2 separate regions of the Homo sapiens genome follow, and region 1 is linked to region 2. The links are contacts of gene promoters, found by promoter capture Hi-C in human tissues and cell types (Jung and others, 2019). All regions are on one chromosome and are shown on one strand. The core of a region is centred on a gene start or on the middle of the fragment in contact, and the rest is flanking DNA. Distances in the headings are between cores, read along the strand shown.

Region 1 (4,545 bases), core at 1,566-4,065, 560 kb before region 2:
AGCTTTTCTTCACTTTCATCTTCCCTGATATTTATGCTGATTGTGAAATGGAATAGGAGACTTCTTAAGATTAATGAAGGAGGGGGAGAGATTAGGTGATTATTTTTCACAAGAAAGATCATTGTGGACATGCCTTCTTTTCCCTAATAAAATTTACAACCTATACAGATAGCTTGAAGCAGACCACATGGCTACAATTTAGCACCCAGGGATTGGAATGGGCTTACTACCTCTATCCCAAAACATCCCCACATAAAGACTGTTGCAGAAACAAGAGATCATGCTAGATCATATTAGAGGGATAAACAATTATCAACACCAAGGACTCACGAAGGATAAATTAAGACAGATGTCTGAGCTTGTTGGAGAGAATGATAAAACCAGAGGCTGAAGGAGACTAGGTGATGAGGACACCACAATGCAAAGTCAATGCATCTTTGATATATTCCCAAGCACAAAGTAAGAGCCCAGGTCATCTGGATGCCTGCATCTTGGGGCTTAGTAAATAAGCAGCTTGGAACCAGAGTTTATCTCTTTCAATTTTGCTTCCACCAGAATTCCTAAAAGGGATTCTCATGTTTTAGAGGCATATTTAACACCTGGAAGAGCTTGTTGGGAATGCAGATTCCTGGGCTGCAGCCCAGCCTGCTGACTCAGAGAAGCCCCTGATGATTCTCAGTAGGTGGATTGAGCCCATCCTGCGAGCATAATTGCCTTAGTGAATTCACACTAATTGACAAGGCACTTGAGGAAAACAAAAACAAAAAAACAACAACAACAAAAAATGTAGGTCTCGTGACACTAGGAAAGAAAGTCATGTTTTTACCCCTGCTGGTCTCCCACCACAAGCTACGGGCAAAGAAGGGAAGAGATCCAAAGCAGAGAAAACACAAAATAGACAAACCTCAATTTTTACATCATAGGGGTATTTTTAAAAGGCTGTGTATAATCAAATTTGTGTCAGTTAATCTTTACTTTCCCTTAAGTCTAACTCAATGTATCCACTTTTGATTTTTAATGTGGTAATGACTTTGTCATCTTTTTTTTCTCTTCTACTTATGCCATACTTATGGCATACTTATGCCAGCCTCTCCATCCAGAATTGAACTGCCTGTGAACCAGCTACAGAGAGCACCCAGGGCCATTTGCCTCACAGCAGCAGAGCTGCTTGTTTACCGAGAGCTCCAGCCCCTTGTTGGCAAAGGTGGACCTCTTATCTCTCAGGGATCACTCTGCCTCTGGGTTCCTGTATCCCTGTGTGGGATTTACACACTGCCCGAGGGCCTGGCTCTTCCTGGGTTCTGCTCCACTGTTGCCCAGCTGACCTGTCAAGTTGTGGTTGGAGACCCAGAGTGACCCAGCCCCTACATCGCCCATCAGACTTGTTGCCCTGGTCTGGCTGGCCATTTATCTGGCTCTGGGATTAACTCTAAAATCCTGAGGGCACCAGCCTTCTAGGAGTCTGATATGGGCCATTTTCCCTGGAAATATAAATGAAACTGACTGGCGTGGGAGCACTTATAGCTCTTGCTGGTCCTCCTGGTCCTGGGTCCAACCTAAAAGGATCTTTTTCACCATTCCCACTGTCCCTGATCAAATCAATCTCTCCTTATTTGTCATATGGACCACCCTGGTGCTCTCCTGACTTACCTCCTTCCACCTTTTTTAGTCTATTTTAGTCCACCGTCCGTTTGGCTGCCCGAGGAAACTCTCTAAACTATGGATCTGACATCATTACCCTGCCATGTCCCTTTAATAGTTCCCCATTATCTGAGGGTAAAGCCAAAATTCACAATGGCCCACAAGGCCCTATCTCACCAGCCTGATCTCTCTCTCTTTCTCTCTCTCTCTCTCAAATCTTCCCCAAAATGCCACTTATGCTCTAGCTATAGCGAACATCTTATTCTTTCTTTCTTTTTTTTTGAGACTGAGTCTCACTCTGTCGCCCAGGCTGGAGTGCAGTGGCACGGTCTCAGCTCACTGCAAGCTCCGCCTCCCTGGTTCACGCCATTCTCCTGCCTCAGCCTCCTGAGTAGCTGGGACTACAGGGGCCTGCCACCACGCCTGGCTAATTTTTTTGTATTTTTAGTAAAGACGGGGTTTCATCGTGTTAGCCAGGATGGTTTCGATCTCCTGACCTCGTGATCTGCCCGCCTTGGCCTCCCAAAGTGCTGGGATTACAGGCATGAGCCACTGTGCCCAGCCTTACTCTTTTTAAGTCTATGCCATCTTCCAATGCCACATTTGTGTCCTCATGTTATGTCCTCACCCTGGAATGTTCTCTCTTCCCATTTTTGTCCCTCTTGCTTTTTCTTCAACTTTTTTTTTTTTTTTGAGTCAAGGTCTTGCTCGATCACCCAGGCTGGAGTGCAGCCTCGACCTCCCAGGCTCAAGTGATCTCCCACCTCAGCCTCTTGAATAGCTGAAATCACAGGTACGTACCACTATGCCTGGCTAATTTGTTTATTTTGTAATGATAGGGTCTCCCTATGTTGCCCAGGCTGGTCTCAAACTCCTGGACTCAAGAGATTCTCTTGCCTTGGCCTCACAAAGTGCTGGGATTACAGGTGTGAGCCACCATGCATGGCCTTGTCTTTTTTCTTGAATAAGAATCTCACCTTGTCCCCCAGGCTGGAGTGCAGTGGTGTGATATTGGCCCATTGCAGCTTCGACCTCCCAGGTTTAAGCAATCCTCCTGCCTCAGCCCCAACAAGTAGTTGAAACTACAGGCATGCACCACCACACCCAGGTAATGTTTGTATTTTTTTTCTAGAGACGGGGTTTCACCATATTGCCCAGGCTGGTCTCAAACTCCTGAGCTCAAGCAATCCACCTGCCTTGGCCTCCCAAAGTGCTAGGATTACAGGCATAATCCACCATGCCCCGCCCTCCTTTAGCTCTTTTAACGTTTTTTGGTTTTTTTTTTTGCATATTATTATGAAATGGTAAGCATTCGTGACGGAAAATTCAGAAAGTGTAGAAAAGAAAACCAACCATAGTCTCATCTCTCATAAGCAACAAATGTTAATATTTGGGCATAGTTCCTCCAGTCTTTTTGTTCATTTGCATTTTTCTTTTGATAACTGACAGCATTCTATACATGAACTCGTATATTCATTTTTAAAAAATTTTTTGAGACAGGATCTCTGTTGCCCAGCCTAGAGTACGGTGGCCCAAACACAGTTCACTGCAGCCTCAACCTCCCAGGCTCAAGCGATCCTCCCACGTCAGTCTCCTGAGTAGCTGGAATCACAGGCACACACTAACATGCCCAGCTAATTTTTAATTTTCTTGTGGAGACGGGGTCTCACTTTGTTTCCCAGGCTGGTCTCCAATTCATGGGCTCAAGTGATCCTCCCACAGTGCTCCCAAAGTGCTGGGATAACAGGCGTGAGTCACTGTGTTTGGCCTATGTTGTCTTAAAATAGTCTTAAATACCAACATGGGCAATATAATGAGACCCTGGCTCCACAAAAAGTAAAAGAATTAGCTGGGTGTGGTGGCATGCACCTGTAGTGCCAGGTATTTGAGAGGCTGAGGTGGGAGGATTGCTTGAGCCCAGGAGGTTGAGGCTGCCATTGAGCCATGATTGCACCACTGACCTCCGGACTGGGTGATAGAACAAGACCCTGTGTCAATTTTTTTTTCCTGAAACATATTTAAAAAAAACAAACTTTTTTTTTTTTTTTGAGATGGAGTCTCGCTTTATTGCCCAGGCTGGAGTGCAATGGTGTGTTCTCAGCTCACTGAAACCTCTGCCTCCTGGGTTCAAGCGATTCTCTTGCCTCAGCCTCCCAAGTAGCTGGGACTACAGGTGTGCACCACGTTCAGCTAATTTTTGTATTTTTAGTAGAGACAGGGTCTCACCATGTTGGCCAGGCTGGTCTCGAACTCCTGGCCTCAGGTGATCCACCTGCCTCGGCCTCCCAAAGTGCTGGGATTACAGGCATGAACCACTGTGCCCAGCCAAAAAAGCTTTTTGAAAGTACAATTCAAAAAATTTTAAATAAAATTTTAGACTTACCAAAAAGTTGCAAAAATATACAGAGAATTCCTGTATATTCTTCACCCAACTTCCCTTAATGTTAACATCTTATAACCAGAGTATAATTATCAAAACTAAGAAATTTTTTTCCACCGTAAAGTTACTACTTTTCTCTTTGTAAATAATATTTTTTGTGGGGGGGATACTTTGAGAGCATACAAATATCCTGCTTCTCCTTAAACTTTTGCCCATCAGTTTTAGCATCCATCAGTGGATACTGCTTGCAGTTATTATTACTGCGATATTCTAACCGAGATTTTCTATTTCCTTATTCCTTACATTTTACAATTGGAATTCTTCTGTAAAGTAAAGTACCTTCTCCTCAATTTATTTATACTGTATGGACTCAAAGATTTTTATTTAACCATTGGGTTTTAATCTAGTACTATCATAATATAGTACTATGCTTAATCCAGTAGTATTCTTATTTATTTTGTTGCTCAAATTGTTTCAGCCTTGGCCATAGGGGGCTCTTTCAGTTTGGCTCTCGTGCCCTTTCG
Region 2 (3,952 bases), core at 420-2,919:
TTTTTCTAGCCTGCAGGTGAGCAGTTCAGAAGCTTATTTCCAAACACAAACGCTTTAGATAGTTGGAAAAGAGGAACTGAAAATAATGGTCTTCCATACCCTATGACAACATTTTAGAGCTAGAAGGGTTTTTTTTTAATAGTAATGTTCTCAGTCCCCTAGTTTACAGATGGAGACTCAGGAGAGAGGGCTAGAAATTTCTTGCTACTAAACAGTGTGGCCCAATGGATTGGTGCACCCTGGCATAAGGAATATGTTTACTGCACCATAGCCTCATTGAAGGTCCCCGCCCCGGCCTTTTTTTTTTGAAGCATTCACCTAGGGAGACATAGGTAGGATGCATGTCTACACGTAGGAAATGTGCAGACTAGATAGCAAGCTCCATGGGGCAGGAACCATGAAGGGCCTTGTACCTGAGCATACCCCCAGTGCCTGATGCAGGGCCTAGTGCACACTCAAATGTTGGTTGACTGGCCGGGTGCGATGGCTCATGCCTATAATCGTAGCACTTTGGGAGGCCAAGGCGGGCAGATCGCTTGAGGTCAGGAGTTCGAGACCAGCCTGGCCAACGTGACAAAACCCCCGTCTTTACTAAAAATACAAAAAAATTTAGCTGGGCCTGGTGGCACACACCTGTAATCCCAGTTACTCGGGAGGCTGAGGCACAAGAATTGCTTGAACCCGGGAAGCAGAGGCTGCAGTGAGCTGAGATTGCACCACTGCACTAGCGCCTGAGCCACAGAGTGAGACCCTGTCTAAAAAAAAAAAAAAGTTGGCAGACTGAATGCTGGAAAGAAGAAGGACCTGGCTTTGTCCCCACACCAATCTGGTGGGCGAGTACAGAATGTAAACTGTCTGGAGGTTGGCATTGGCCTAGCTTCTCCGTTGCTCTCTTGTTCTCTAGAATCCAATCAAGCACCTGTGGCCAGAGAGCTGTGTGAAATGGAAACCAGTCCCACCAGCCCCTGATTGCACCCCCGCAATGTCTTCTCGCCCTGTTTAATGTCATGTCCAAACTCCTGGCCGCCGTGGCCTGTCTCCACCTCTCCAGCTTCCTCGCTTGGCCTGTCTCCTTAGCTCTCTCTGTCTCACCCACACTGGCCTGCAACTCGCCAGAGTGCCCCAGGCTTTTCAGCTTTTGCACGGGCCCTTCCCTCTCCAGGCTCTCTCCCCTGGATCTTTGCTTCAGCTGCTCCTTCTTGACATCCAGGTCTCAGACCAATGGCCCCTTACTCAGAAGGCCTAGCGCAGGCCGCCTAATTTCACACAGTTCTCCCCCTTCCCGCACTGCCTTCCATCACCTCGTTTCATTTTCTTCGTGGCACGGAGCACCATCTCCAATGGCCTTGTTCATTTAGTTAATTTATTTTCCGACTTAGTTCCAGGTGCTAAAACAGTGTTACCTTGGCAGGCTTCCCATCAAATATTGTTGCGCAAAGGATGGATGGATGAAAGGAAGAGTGAGCCAATAAACGAGGGAACGCCGGGAAAGGCAGCCTCAAGCCGGTGGGCCCTGCCACCCCCACCGTCCCTGAGCATCCGAGCCGGTTCCCGCCCCCGGCCCGAACTGGCCCGCGCGCGCTCGCAGCCCCGCGGCGGAACCCGAGGGCGGCGGCAGCGGTTTCCCTTGAACGAGCCGGGGAATCTGGAGGGAGCACACAGGAAAGGCAGAGCCGCGAGCTGGACCAGCCGTGGTGAGTGCAGCGGCGCCCAGGCGGGGAGCGCAGTGCGGGTCGCTGGGACTGAGCGCGCGAGCGGGGTGGGAGTCGGGATGGGGGCCCGGGGCGCTGGGCGGAGCCTCTGGAGTCGCGCTGGGCCGAGAGCCGCGGGGACCCAAGCATCAGGGGTCGTGGGTGCAGGCGGCGGCGCGGCTTGAGGGTAGGGGGTGCGGGCCTGGCCGGCGCGGCAGGGGAGGGCCTCGCGCGGATCCCGTGGTCACGGCGGGAGTCAGCTGTCCTGGGTTCGAGTCCCAGAGCTGTCGCTAACTTGTGGACCCCCCTCACTTCGTCCCTTGGGCTTCAGCATAGCCCTTTGCAAAATGGGGCCAATAGTATCAGATCCATTGATGGGTTGGTTGGTTCATTCATTCTGGCGCTTTACTAGGTTCTGGTGCTGCAGATGGATAGACGAACTTGCCCATGAGGGGTTCACTATCTAGTAAGAAAAACATTTCCACCTGGATACTCCACAGGCGTGTCAAATTCAGTATCTCCTAAACCGCACTACTTTTCTCCACAAACCTACCACTCAAATCTAAATGACTGAAATCACTATTCAACCAGTCACCCAAGCACAAAAACCTGGCTTGGTTCCTCCTCTCTCACTTACTACAGTCAATGGACCACCAACTGCTGCCAATTTCTACTTTCTAAAGCTTTCCAAATCCATCCTTTATCTTGGTTTGTTCTTTTAGGAGCCTACAGATTATGGCAATAACTTCCTAATGGTTCTCTTTAGCTTTAATTTTAGCTTCTTCCAGTTCATTTTTCATTCTGCTATAAAGTGGTCTTTTAACAGTTCAAATATGATTATATCACTCACCTGCTTAAAGCCCATTAAAGGTTTTTCATTGTCTTCAAAATAATAGCCAAAGTCCTTAGTGTGGGTTCAAGGTCTTTTCTAATCCCACCTGGTCTTCAATCCTTTATCTCTAAACCACTGTTTCTCAAAGTCTGGTATAGTGGTGACCTCCATTGCAACCAACATGGGAGTACTTGTTAACAAGTGAAGATGACAGCTTAATTCCAGAACAAATGAGACTCTTGCGGGAAGGGGCAGTTCCCAGGATTCTGTGTTTTTAACAAGTTCTGCACTAAAGGTTGAGAACCCCTGTTCTAGACACTCCAATTTTTACTCCGCTGTTGATGAGATTCAGGACACACTGCCGCAAAATATGACTCGTTGGCATTAGAGGAAACAACTGAAGCAGGAAAGTCACTTTGTGTCTTCCCACTTTTCTCCCCTGAAGCAGGCCATAAAAGAATTGTTTGACCTTCTTCTGTATAAGACCCTTCAGTGAGAGGTGCTCATCCTGTAAGTATAGGATCGAGGAAAGGAATGCCCTTATCTTTGAAGACACAGGTACACAGAGAAGAATCAGAACAAATAGGCCTTGCTAAATTCTCCCCAGCGTATTACTGTTAGATCATACCCCCTTTTTCCAGTCTCAGCCATGAACCTAATTCTCCCCTCAACTATCTACGTATGTTTCTCTCAACACACTTTACTGTCTTTTATGCCTTTGTACACTCTCAGTTTGGGCTACTGTAAAAAAAAAATAGCAAAAACTGGGTGGCTTAAACAACAGAAATTTAATTCTCACAGTTCCGGAGGCTGGAAGTCCAAAGTTAAGGTGCCAGCATGGTTGAGTGCATGGTGATAGCTCTCTTCCTCGGTTTGTAGAGATCTGTCTTCTTGCTGTATCCTCACAATGCAGAGAGACCATCTCTGTAGTGTCTAGTCTCATAAGGACACTAATCCCTTTCATGGGAGCCACTCTTATGACCCAATTATCTCCCGAAGGCTCTATCTCCTAATACCATCTCAATGGGGATAGGGCTTCCACATCACCATTTTTGGGGAACACAGCATTCAGACAATAGCATCCACAAAACTCCTTCGTTACTTTAGTGATTTCCTCCTCATTATTCAAGGCTCAGGGAAGACTTCATTGACTGTGCACCACCCCCTCAGCCCTAGACCAGGTTAGGTTCATTCTTGCAGACTCTCACAAAGCCTTGTGCTGACTCCTCGACATTTATCCCACTGTACTGCAATCATAATTGTATAATTGTGTTAGCATTGTGGGTTTGACAGTTGTGAGCACTTGAGAGAACGCATGAGACCCATTCTTCTCTGCCCTCACCCCCAGCACAGAGCCTACCATATAGGTGTTTATTAAAGGGCTCTTGAATGAAGGAGTGATTTAGGGCCAGATGGAGAGGAGTTCAAG

What was found. The method cuts DNA at HindIII sites, captures the fragments that hold promoters and counts their contacts. A contact is called where the count stands out against the background at its distance.
Region 1: a contact is called between a fragment that was not itself captured here and the fragment with the promoter of AGK in region 2, in 1 of the 25 tissues and cell types used here (dorsolateral prefrontal cortex).

The regions. Positions count from the first base shown.
Region 1 is chr7:140,991,391-140,995,935 of GRCh38, forward strand. LOC105375536 (a long non-coding RNA gene) reads left to right here. Exons shown (of 5, transcript XR_002956518.2): 5 at 2,343-2,381. The region is part of intron 1 of LOC107986720 (a long non-coding RNA gene); the gene reads right to left. Among named protein-coding and RNA genes, the nearest start is that of MRPS33, 21 kb to the right of the region's middle. The HindIII fragment of the contact is 6,404 bases long and covers 1-4,545 here.
Region 2 is chr7:141,549,741-141,553,692 of GRCh38, forward strand. It overlaps AGK (acylglycerol kinase), which reads left to right and starts at 1,670. Exons shown (of 16, transcript NM_018238.4): 1 at 1,670-1,694. It overlaps AGK-DT (AGK divergent transcript), which reads right to left and starts at 1,604. Exons shown (of 6, transcript NR_183408.1): 1 at 1,404-1,604. RefSeq lists silencers at 1,465-1,554, 1,735-1,914. The HindIII fragment of the contact is 6,047 bases long and covers 1-3,952 here.